Regions from separate parts of the Homo sapiens genome. Here region 1 is linked to region 2. Evidence: promoter capture Hi-C in 16 types of primary human blood cells and fetal thymus (Javierre and others, 2016). All regions are on one chromosome and are shown on one strand. The core of a region is centred on a gene start or on the middle of the fragment in contact, and the rest is flanking DNA. Distances in the headings are between cores, read along the strand shown.

Region 1 (5,541 bases), core at 2,553-5,052, 320 kb before region 2:
CATATGAAGAATGAATCAGCGAGTGATTTCATGTCTCATCATCTCTAAAAAGCCTGTTTGATCACTTCCAGGACCAGGAAACTCCTGACATTATCAAGGATGCCACTGCAAAGTGAAATGTCATAAACATGTAGGAGTTGATTCTTTCCAGAAGCTGGCAGTCCAGGACTAGTGTGGGGGCTCCACAGTGTCACCAGAGCTTTGACCTTCCTGCCCTACCATCTTCAGTGGGTGGCTTCTGTACTCAGGGTTACCTCATGGTCCAAGATGGCTGCTGGACTCTAGCCATTATATCCAAATACCAGGTAGAATAGAGGACAAAAGCAGTGAACCTCAAGGCTGAGGCTCCTGGAAGCCTCATACACTTTTACCTACTACAGTCCATGGAACATAGTGTAGTCACGGGGCCACACCAAAATGCAAGAGAGACTGGGAAATGTCTTCATTCCAGGCAGCACGATCTGAATCTGTTATTAAGGAAAAAAATAGGAAGAATGGATATTGGGTATGTAACTAGCTACAAATGATCATGGCATCTCCGTTTATTGAGCACTTATTATGTGCTAGACACAGTCCTAAGTACTTAATAAATGTGGCCCGGTCAAACAAGATTGCCCTCTGCCCCCAAGATTGCCCTCTGCCCCTTCTGTAGCCAGGGACACACACACACACGCACGCACGCATGTACAGGAGCCAGTTGGGCCTGGCCCCCTTCACTGCGGGTACTGACATGCGAAGTCTTTGTCATATGACTCTGAGCAGGGAGGGAGCAGTGTCCTCTTAGCATAATAAGATCAGGATTCATAACATTAAATCAAAGTGCTGTAACTCACAGGAATATCAGTTTCCTATTCAGAAGATAGAGGAGAATGTTTTCAGAAGGAAATTGAACTTTATGGTTTGAAACACGTTTAATTTTAAATATGTTGAGAGAAAACCAGCTACAGCCTGGCATGGAAACTCCTGTTGTTCCAGCCAATGCCTTGGAGAACCAGAGACCACGCCCCCTTCCTCCCTGCTGAGGAGTCAACGAACGAGACCAAAGTCCCCTGTTCTTCTCTGCAGTCAGCAGAAATCAGAGAAGAACATCTTTAGACAGTCAGCAGACTCAGGAACTGTGTACTCTAGGACTTTTTAAAAATTTTTTTACTTTTATTTTTTTGAGACGGAGTCTCGCTCTGTCGCCCTGGCTGGAGTGCAGTGGCGTGATCTCAGCTCACTGCAACGTCCACCTCCCAGGTTCAAGCTATTCTCCTGCCTCAGCCTCCCGAGTAGTTAGGATTACAGGCGCCTGCCACCACACCCGGCTAATTTTTGTATTTTTAATAAAGACAAGGTTTTGCCATGTTGGCTAAGCTGTTCTCCAACTCCTGACCTCAGGTGATCCACCTGTCCCAGCCTCCCAAAGTGCTGGGATTACAGGCATGAGCCACCGCACCCAGCCTGGGACTTTTTTATTTTTACAGAGATGGGTGATGATTCATGGGACGTTGGAGATGCCCCAAGACTGGAGATATGATTTGGGGGATCCTGAGGATTGGTGACCTAGGCAAAACTTGGGGAGGCTGGATCCTGGGTATGGAGTAGCCAATCTGAATAAAGACCCCTGCGCCAAAGGTTGGCACAGAAATAGTGGTCTTGCCAGCCTTCAGGGGAGGCCCACACCAGTCCTAGACTGCCTGCTTCTGGAAGGAATCAACTCTTACATGTTTATGCCATTTCACTTTGGGTTTTCTGTTCTATACAGCTAAACCTAATACTGGACTGATACATTATTATTATTTTCAGAACCAACCAAAGCTGGAATAACACTCTTGATAATGCCAGTTTCCTGGTCCTAGAAGTGAGCTAACAGGCTTTTCAGAGATGACGAGATGTGAAATCCCTCACTGATTCATGCTTCATGTGTTTAATGAGCACCCACTAGGTGCTAAGCCTTGTTCTAGTCAGGAATAAAACCGATACTTCACGAGGTTTACAGCCTGGTGGAGGAGACGTGTATCAGGCTAGTGCGTGTAGACCAAAGGCCAGAGGCGCCCACTCAAGCATTTCCACCTACATGAGAATCCCATAGTCTTTTTAGAAGAATAGAAATAGTAAGCCCTGAGTCACGACTGCATTTGAATGCCACCTTACCTGAAGTCTGAATCAGGGATAATTTGATTTCAGAAGAATAAAATGAGGCTCCTAACACCTGTCCCAAATTGCAAGGAAATGAGGGTATTCTCTTTTTTTTTTTTTTTTCTGAGATGGAGTCTCGCTCTATCGCCCAGGCTGGAGTGCAGTGGCGCGATCTCGGCTCACTGCAAGCTCCACCTCCCGGGTTCACGCCATTCTCCTGCCTCAGCCTCCTGAGTAGCTGGGACTACAGGCGCCCGCCACCACGCCCAGCTAATTTTTTGCATTTTTAGTAGAGACGGGGTTTCACCGTGTTAGCCAGGATGGTCTCGATCTCCTGACCTCGTGATCCGCCCGCCTCGGCCTCCCAAAGTGCTGGGATTACAGGCGTGAGCCACCGCGCCCAGTTGAAATGAGGGTATTCTCTAAGAGGCAGATGACAGAACCTACTGCAATGAATTTGTCAAGCTCAAGGCTAAGGACACAGTCCCTCCACAAGGCAGCCTTCACTTCAAATGCCAGGTGCAACTGGGGATTCCTGGGCCACCCTCACTTCTGACCGCTTGGCTGCATTGAGGGTTCCCACTACCCCCTGTGGTTCAATAATTCACTAGAATGACTCATGGAACTCAGGAAAGTGCCCCGCCTCATAACGACAGTTTTTATGATAGCAAACAGACACAGATCAGAACCAGCCACAAGAAAGGACATAGAGGGTGAGGTGCGGAAGGGGTTCAAGTGCAAAGCTCCTAGTTACCTTCTCTCCAGACAGTCACCTCCCCCCAGCTATGATGCGTGATGACACTCAGAGAATACTGCTAACCAGAGAAGCTCCTGAGGCTTTGGTGTCCAGCGTTTTTGGGGGTTTTGTTTTTGTTGTTGTTGTTTCTGAGATGGAGTCTCGCTCTCGTCGCCCAGGCTGGAGTGCTGTTGCGTGATCTCAGTTCACTGCAACCTCCACCTCCTGGGTTCAAGCGATTCTCCCGCCTCAGCCTCCAGAGTACGAGTAGCTGGGATTACAGGCATGCACCATGCCCAGCTGATTTTGTATTTTTAGTAGAGACAGGGTTTCACCATGTTGGCCAGGCTGATCTCAAACTCCTGACATCTGGTGACCCGCCCCCCTCAGCCTCCTGAAGTGCTGGGATTACAGGCATGAGCCACTGCCAGCCAGTGTCCAGCGTTTTTTAGTGGGGCTTGATCCCTTACTGCCAGTGTGGCTGACCTTTCATCTCCAGTCTCTCCTGAGCTAACTCTTGTGTATCCAGCTCATCTGGAGGTTGGAACTGATACAGGATGTTCCAAAGCCTTCATTACAGATCACATTGTTAGACTATCTGGTGGCCAAAGGCCCCAGGCAAACACAGACACTTCCATCAGACAGGACGTTAAGGGGCCTAGAGATCACCTCCCAGCAACTGAAGGCAAAGATAATCCTCCTACTGTACATCCTTTTTTTTTCTTTTTTTTTTTTTAAGAGACAGGGTTTCATTCTGTCGCCCAGGCTGGAGTACAGTGACACACTCATGGCTTGCTGCAGCCTCGACCTCCTGGGCTCAAGCAATCCTCCTGTAGCTGGGACTACAGGTGTGCACCACCACACCCCGCCAACTATACATCCACCACCACCCTGTCCTCTCAGCCCCCAAAGTCATGAGGCTTTGACTAGGTATCAGGATGTCTTCAAATGAAAATTAATGAAAACAGCGGGCCCGGTGGCTCACACCTGTAAGCCCAGCACTTTGGGAGGCCGAGACAGGTGGATCACCTGAGATCGGGAGTTCAAGAACAGCCTGATCAACATGGAGAAACCCTGTCTCTGCTAAAAATACAAAAAAAGTAGCTGGGCATGATGGCACATGCCTGTAATCCCAGCTACTTGGGAGGCTGAGGCAGGAGAATTGCTTGAACCCGGGAGGTGGAGGTTGTGGTGAGCCGAGATCATGCCATTGTACTCCAGCCTGGGCAACAAGAGTGAAACTTCGTCAAAAAAAAAAAAAAGAAAAAAAGAAAAGAAAATTAATAAAAACAAAAATCCAAAGTTGGACACACACACAGAGAACACCTTAGGACAATAGAGGTACACCGTGGAGTGCTGCAGCAGCAAGCCAAAGATTGCCAAGGATTACCAGAGACGTGAGACGTTGGAAAGGGCAAGAGTGGAATCTCCCCTCTCCCCCAAGTTTGAGAGGGGGCCAAGCCTTACCGACACCTTAATTTGAGGCCTCTAGTCTCTAGAAATGCAATGTGCAAGGCGGGGCGCGGTGGCTCACGCCTGTAATCCCAGCACTTTGGGAGGCTGAGGCGGGCCTTAAGGTCAGGAGTTCAAGACCAGCCTGGCCAACATGGTGAAACCCTGCCTCAAAATGCAAAAAGTAGCCAGGCGTGGTGGCATGTGCCTGTAATCCTAGCTACTCAGGAGGCTGAGGCAGGAGAATCACTTGAACCCAGGAGGCAGAGGTTGCAGTGAGCCGAGATCACACCAGTGCACTCCAGCCTGGGCAACAGCGTGAGACTCCATCTCAAAAAAAAAAAAAAGGGCCGGGTGCAGTGCTCACGCCTGTAATCCCAGCACGTTGGGAGGCTGAGGTGGGAGGATCACCTGAGGCCAGGAGTTCAAGACCAGCCTGGCCAATATGGTGAAACTCTGTCTCTACTAAAAATTCCAAAAAAATTTAGCAGGGTGTGGTGGCGCATGCCTGTAATCCCAGCTACTCGGGAGACTGAGACAGGAGAATTGCTTGAACCCGGGAGGTGGAGGTTGCAATGAGCTGAGATGGCGCCACTGCACTCCAGCCTGGGAGACAGAGTGAGACTCCGTCTCAAAACAAAACAAAACAAAAATGCGACGTGCAGTGATGTGCTCCAGCTGGTGTGATCCCCTTGGGGATGTGGCAATGGATGGGCATCCCCAGACTTGATGATCATCCCTTTGTCTCTTACCAGCAATCCCCAAACCAATTCACAAGTTCTGTTTTGTTTTGGTTTGGTTTTTTGTTTGTTTTTTGAGACAGAGTCTCACTCTGTCGCCCGGGCAGGAGTGCAGTGACATGATCATATCTCACTGCAGCCTCAAACTCCCAGGCTCAAGTGATCCTCCCACCTCAGCCTCCCTAGTAGCTGGGACTACAGGTGTGCACCACCATGCCTGGCTAACTTTTTTCATTTTTTGTAGAGATGGGGGTCTCCCTATGTTGCCCAGGCTGGTTTCGAACTCCTGGGCTCAAGTGATCCTCCCATCTCAGCCTCCCAAAGTGCTGGCATTACAGGCGTGAGCCACCGTGCCCGGCCACAAGATATTTTTTAAGCATGGAGGTTTCTGTGCATTGGATTCCCCTCTTTGAGCTTCACCATATATATTTGTCCAAGGGCAGGGAGATCCGGTGTAATCTGCTTACACAATATTCCTGGAGAAGTTCTTCT
Region 2 (6,119 bases), core at 883-3,382:
CCATTCAACAACCCAGCATTCCTGCTGCAACCCAGCCCCAATCCAAAGACCACTCGTGCCCTGGCAGCCTACACCTCCTCATTAACACAAAGCACTGCAGTGAACTCCCCTGACACATCGCCTCACTAACTCTCACGGCTCTGCATCCACATCTCTACTCCAGAGAACTGTTTCCAGCTAACTCGGCTAACGAGGGCTCCCTGCAGGAACAAAGCCACACACCACTGCCCTATGGCCCCACCACAGCAGCACCACGCAACCCAAATCCATGTGCGGCTGCCTTCATGTCAGACCTCCACCAGCATCAGCCACTGCCGAGTAGTATTTTGAAAAGAAATGTGCAGATCTGAAGCAAAACACACAGGGCCTCCTTGGAATTCTGATCCGGCGTGGCAAGCCAGGAGCTTGAAACAGCTTCTTTATGCTAGATCTCAGCACAGAAAGGCACAGCCCCCCCTGTTTCCCTACAAACCACGCAAACGCTCTAATCAGACCTCTGCATGACACCTCTCGGAGGCTGCCACAGAACTGTCTCAAAGCTGTGCCAATGAGTTTGACTTGATTACAGACTCCGAACTAGGGGAAACCCTGGCTTTTTTGCTCAGGAGTTCAGAGGTTTCCTTCTACTGAGCCTGTTTCCCCAGCAGCACAGCCTCAAACTGTAGACCTATATTGTGACTACGGAGCTGCTTTTAAAGGGCAGGCTCCCAGGTGCCTGGGACTCTTGAGGGAAAGGCCTGAGGGAACCACTGATGACCTCTTTGTGGCCTTTCTCACCCTTCCAATGGCATCCCTAGAGTGACAGCCTCCTTAAACCACCCCAAAGTTCCAGTTTGAGCCACAGCTCTGCATGCCCCTCCATGCCTACCCAGACACCTCTTCTCTTTCCTCATATTTTTGGATCTCCTAACTTTTCTCAGGCCTTCAGGGACATGATAGGCAGTGGCCAGTGTCCCTCGCCCTCAAGTAATTCTGTGTTCTCTGAGGTCCCCTCTCTTGACCCCCAGACTCCAAACCGCTTGCTCTCCTGAGTCCCTCCCTGGCGGTACTGGCCAGAGGCCAGAGGAGTGGGTTTGGCGCCACCTGCTCGGAGCGCCCCTCCTTGACCCCCGCAAATCTCCAGGACGGTCGTAGAGGTCGCTCTCTTCCAGGACTGGCGGGTTCTGGCGGGTATGAGGGAGGCTAGCGGGGAGGGCCTTGCCCCAAGAGGCCCGGAGCGTGGACAGCGCACGGGGTGCTGAATCAGGCACGGGGAGGAGGAGTGCCGGCAAGGGCGCCGGCCCGGGGAGGACGAGGTGAGCCGAGGCGTGATCCGTGGGGGACCACGGGCCGCGGGAGGAGGCTGTGGACGCGCAACCGCGGCCGGCAGGGTCCCGAGCGCCTTTCCCGGGAGCGCTGACGGGAGGCGCGGCCCTTACCTGGCCAAAGGCGGAGCTGAGCATGGGGCGCAGCCGGTGGAGGAACGGGTCCGCCTCGGACGCGGCGGCTGGAACGGAGTCCCCGCGGCCCCGGGCTCGCAGAGAGCCCCGGAGGCCGAGCGCCGGGGACAGTCCCCGTTCCTCCCCATCCCGCCCGCGGGCCGGCGGCAGCGGCGACGACGGCGAAGGTCGGGACGCCGCGGCCGGCAGCGCCTCCCGGGGCCTGCAGTGCGCCTGGGGGAGCACACGCTGGCTCCCCCGCGCGCCCTCCTCTCGCGGCGCCGGCCGGCACAGGGGCCTCCGCGAACTGGGGTCCCCGGACGACTGCGGCGTCGCCGGGCAGGAGCCGGGTAGCCGGCGGCTAGGCAGCCCCGGGTCCCGGGCAGGGCCGTGGCGGGGAGCCCGGCTGCCCCCGCTCGCCGCCGCCGCCGCCGCCTTCAGCAGCGACGTCTTGGACTCGCTTTTGGCGATGTGCGAGCTCATCGCGGCGGGGCCCGCGCTCGCATGGCCCGGCGGGGGCGGCGCGGTGCGGCGCGGCGCGGGGCCCCCGGCGGGCAGAGAACGGGGCTCCCGGCGGGAGCCAAGCCCGAGGACGCGCTGGAGGCGGGCGCCGTCCCCCGGCCGCTTAAATGCGGCCCCGTCGCCGCCGCCCATGTGACAGCGCAGCCTCTACGCCCGGAGCCCGGAGCTCCCGGCGGCTGGCGGTGCAGATCTGGGGGCGCTGCCGGCTGTCCCCGGAGAGCCCACCCCCGGCTCCCTGGCGGCCCAGGTACCGCCGCGCCCCGCCCCTTGCCCCGCCCCGCCCTGGGGGAGCCCCGCTTCCGGGCGGCCCCTGGCGGCGAAGGGGACGCTGCAACGCGGAGCGGGAGCACGAGGAGGGAAGGGGCTTGGCAATGGGCCCCAAAGAGGCCGAGACCCCGGGAGTGCCGGCAGCGCTCTTTATCACGCCTGGAGGCTCCTGCAGAGCCCCGGAACCGCCCGAACCTCCAGAAATGCAGGCAGGGTGCACTCCCCAGGGGGTACAACTTTGGCAATGAGGACTACAGAGGTCCGGGGAGAACCGGAGACCCGAGGAGCATGAAGGCACTCTGTGACATCACTGCCTACAAACGCAGGGGCCGGAATGCAGTGACAGGACACTGCTGGGAGGAAAGTCTCCCAGCGCCTCCGTGTGGGGCTGCCTCCACTCCCAATACCGTGCGGGGGGACTAGGACGACCCTGGTAAGTCAGCCACAGGATATCAGTTCTCAGAATAGAAGAGAAGCCAGGTCTGGCAGCACCTGATGATGGTAAGTCTCAGGTAGGACCCATTTGCTCCCCCTCCAGCTCTTGTCCCCTCTTTCACCTTCCTGCCTTTCTAGATGCTACAGAAATTCCTGCTCTCGGTGGGCAGCCAGGGAGCGTCCCAGGCCTTATCTGAATCTCAAATCCCAGCTCTGCCACCTACCATCTGGGTAACTTGGGCAGGTGTCATCAACCTCTCTGAGCCTTGTTCTCCTCTTCTGTAAAATGCAGATGATAAGCATAACTAATTTCTTGGTAACAGCAGACGATACTATGCACACAAAAGGCCTAGCCCAGTGCTCGGACAGGGGACCATCCAGTTAAGCCAGTTCCCTTCCCCCTGCACATCGTGAGGCCCCATCTACCATTCTTCTTTAGTATCCGGTGCTTGAGCTTTGCGGGGGGCTGGAGGGGTTCCTCCCAGGCTCTCCCTGTTCTGGTCCCTGGCCCCAATGCCATCCACAGTCTTGTCACCGCTCGGCCTCATTAAAAGGATACACGAGGCCGGGCACAGTGGCTCGCACCTGTAATCCCAGCACTTTGGGAGGCCAAGACCGGCGGATCACTTGAGGTCAGGAGTTCGAGACCAGCCTGGCCAACATGGTGAAACCCTGTCTCTACTAAAAATACAAAAATTAGCCAGGCGTGGTGGTGGGCGCCTGTAATCCCAGCCACTTGTAGGCATGAGAATAACTTGAACCCGGGAAGTGAAAGTTGCAGTGAGCCGAGATTGGGTCACTACACTCCAGCCTGGGCAACAGAGTGAGACCCTGTCTCAAAAAAAAAAAAAAAAAAAAAAAAAAAGAAGGGTACACAAACAGATTGCCGATATTACACTTCACTCATGCCAAGAGTTCATCCTTCTCTGCACTGTCTGCTTCTTTACAGAGTGTTGCTCTGTCACCAGGCTGGAGTGCAGTGGCACGATCTCGGCTCACTGCAACCTCTGCCCCCCAGGTTCAAGCGATTCTCCTGCCTCAGCCTCCCGAGTAGCTGGGATTACAGGCACCCGCCACCACACCCAGCTAATTTTTTGTATTTTTAGTAGAGATGGGGTCTCACCATGTTAGCCAGGATGGTCTCGATCTCCTGACCTCATGATCTGCCCGCCTTGGCCTCCCAAAATGCTGGGATTACAGGCGTGAGCCACCGCGCTGGGCCCTGTGTGCCTCTTTTACTTATCCATAGGCAAGGAATTAAGGAAAATGGATGGGCTGGGAAAGCAACTGCCCAGAGGCTAAAGTAAACTAGGAAAGTGTGGCAAATTGTTCCCCAGATCAGCTACCCTTAAGGGACTGAATTGCCATATCAAAGCCACTCAGGTTCCTAAAGCCCAAATCCTGAAGCAGCCTGGGGCGTTGCAGCCCTGAAGGCTCATTGCAGGGTCCTCTGGGATATGCAGGGTGTAATGAGTCCACCCTTTGAGTTCGAGGTCAGTCAATGTCTTACCTGCTCCAGCCCTCAGAATAATCAGTGTTTGGCAGGATTAAAAACAAAGGCACATTCAATATAAATCACAGGAGATAAAGAACCTTATCAGAAACCCTCAGGAGCCAATGAGAGGCAGAGGACTGCTGGGTATTCTAAATCCCTGCTGTGCCACTGTTGGTAACCTTTCTGAAATGCCCTAAATATTTTTGGGCAAGACCTCGGTCACCAACTAGTTTTTGAAAAACTGAAGAATCTGATTATGTTACCTATGATTACTAGAGTAAATAAATAAAAATTATGTCCATGAAGCAAATGGATGAAACACCTTCACTCATATCCCAGATAATCCTGGATGTATGCCAGGATTCCATTTCATTTGTAAAGTGTATTAATTTGGTCACTTATTTGACAAATATGTATCCAACCAGGCACTGCAGTAGTCATCTTGGATACAAAGATTGATCCATTCATTCAACAAATAATTGAGTGCCTGTTATCTGCCAGGCAGTGTTCTAGGTACCAGGGATATGATAGCAAACAAAATGGTCTCTATCCTCAGCAACAAATAAACAAATACATAAACGCATGGAAAAGTAATGGTGACAAACTGGTGGTGTTTCTGCCATGGGGAGAAATAAAGCAGGTAAGAGACTAGGGTTTAACGGGCGGTGCTATTTTATTTATTTATTTAATATTTTTACATAGAGACAGGGTCTTGCTATGTTGGCCAGGTTGGTCTTAAACTCCTGACATCAAGCAATCTTCCCACCTCGGCCTCCTAAAATGCTGGGATTACAGGCATGAACCACTGTGCCCAACTTAGGGTGCTCTTTTAGAGAGCGATTAGGGAAGGCCTCTCTGCAGAGGGAATATCTGAGTAGAAACTCAAATGAAGTAAAGGAGGAAGTCATGTATATATCTGGGAGAAGAGCTTCCCTGGCAGAGGGAGGCTGTTCAAAAGCCCTGAGGAGGGAATAGCTTGGCATGTTCCAGGAGAAGCGGAGATAAAGGAGGCTGGAGTGAGCGAGGGGGAAAGTAGGAGAGATGAAACTGGAGAGGAGGCCGGGCATGGTGGCTCAAGCCTGTAATCCCAGCACTTTGGGAGGCCTAGGCGGGTGGATCACGAGGTCAGGAGATCGAGACCATCCCGGCTAACACGGTGAAACCCCGTCTCCACTAAATATACAAAAAAAAAAAAAAATTAGCCGGGCGTTGTGGCGGGCACCTGTAGTCCCAGATACTCGGGAGGCTGAGGCAGGAGAATGGCGTGAACCCAGGGGGCAGAGCTTGCAGTGAGCCGAGATCGCGCCACTGCACTCCAGCAGCCTGGGTGACAGAGCGAAACTCCGTCTCAAAAAAAAAAAAAAAAAAAAAAACAGAAACTGGAGAGGAAAGCAGGAAAGCAGGGGCCAAAAATGTCAAGGCTTTGGGTTTCCTCTAAGTGTGAAGGGAAGCCACTGGTGGGTTTGCAGCAGTGGGTGGCATATGATAGTTGACATTATTAAAGCACCACTGGGGCCAGGTACAATGGCTCATGCCTGTAACCCCAGCACTTTGGGAGGCCAAGGCAGGAGGAATCGCCTGATGTTAAGAGTTCAAGACTAGCCTAGGCAACATGGTGCAACCTCATCTCTACCAAAGAAATATATACAAAAATTAGCCGGGCTTGCTGGCATGAACCTGTAGTCCCAGCTACTTGGGAGTCTCAGGTGGGAAGATGGCTTGGGCCCTGGAGCCAGAGACTGCAGTGAGCTAAGATCCCACCACTGCACTCCAGCCTGGGCAAAAGAGCCAAACCCTGTCTCAAAAAAAAAAAAAGGCAGAGGGTCAGGGGAGAAAACCAACTAAACTATAATGGGAAACGTGTAATAAGGGGATTATGAGCTAAGTTATATGGGAGAACCCTAAGGGGAGCTAGAGAAAGCATTAGAGGATGTCACATTTGAGCTGCTTTTTGAAGAATAAGTGAAATTCCATCAGATGAA

Evidence for each region. Contacts are between HindIII fragments. The CHiCAGO score rates a contact against its expected background, and 5 or more counts as called.
Region 1: a contact is called between a fragment that was not itself captured here and the fragment with the promoter of CABP1 in region 2, in 2 of 17 cell types (M1 macrophages and endothelial precursors). The highest score is 8.0, in M1 macrophages.

What each region holds. Positions count from the first base shown.
Region 1 is chr12:120,957,273-120,962,813 of GRCh38, reverse strand. No RefSeq gene overlaps it. Among named protein-coding and RNA genes, the nearest start is that of HNF1A-AS1, 12 kb to the left of the region's middle. The HindIII fragment of the contact is 7,737 bases long and covers 1-5,541 here.
Region 2 is chr12:120,636,639-120,642,757 of GRCh38, reverse strand. CABP1 (calcium binding protein 1) reads right to left here and starts at 2,132. Exons shown (of 6, transcript NM_001033677.2): 1 at 1,419-2,132. The coding sequence starts at 2,072. CABP1-DT (CABP1 divergent transcript) reads left to right here and starts at 2,236. Exons shown (of 2, transcript NR_183426.1): 1 at 2,236-2,708. RefSeq lists silencers at 1,153-1,252, 1,473-1,642, 1,653-1,752, 1,973-2,272 and an enhancer at 3,744-4,245. The HindIII fragment of the contact is 19,814 bases long and covers 1-6,119 here.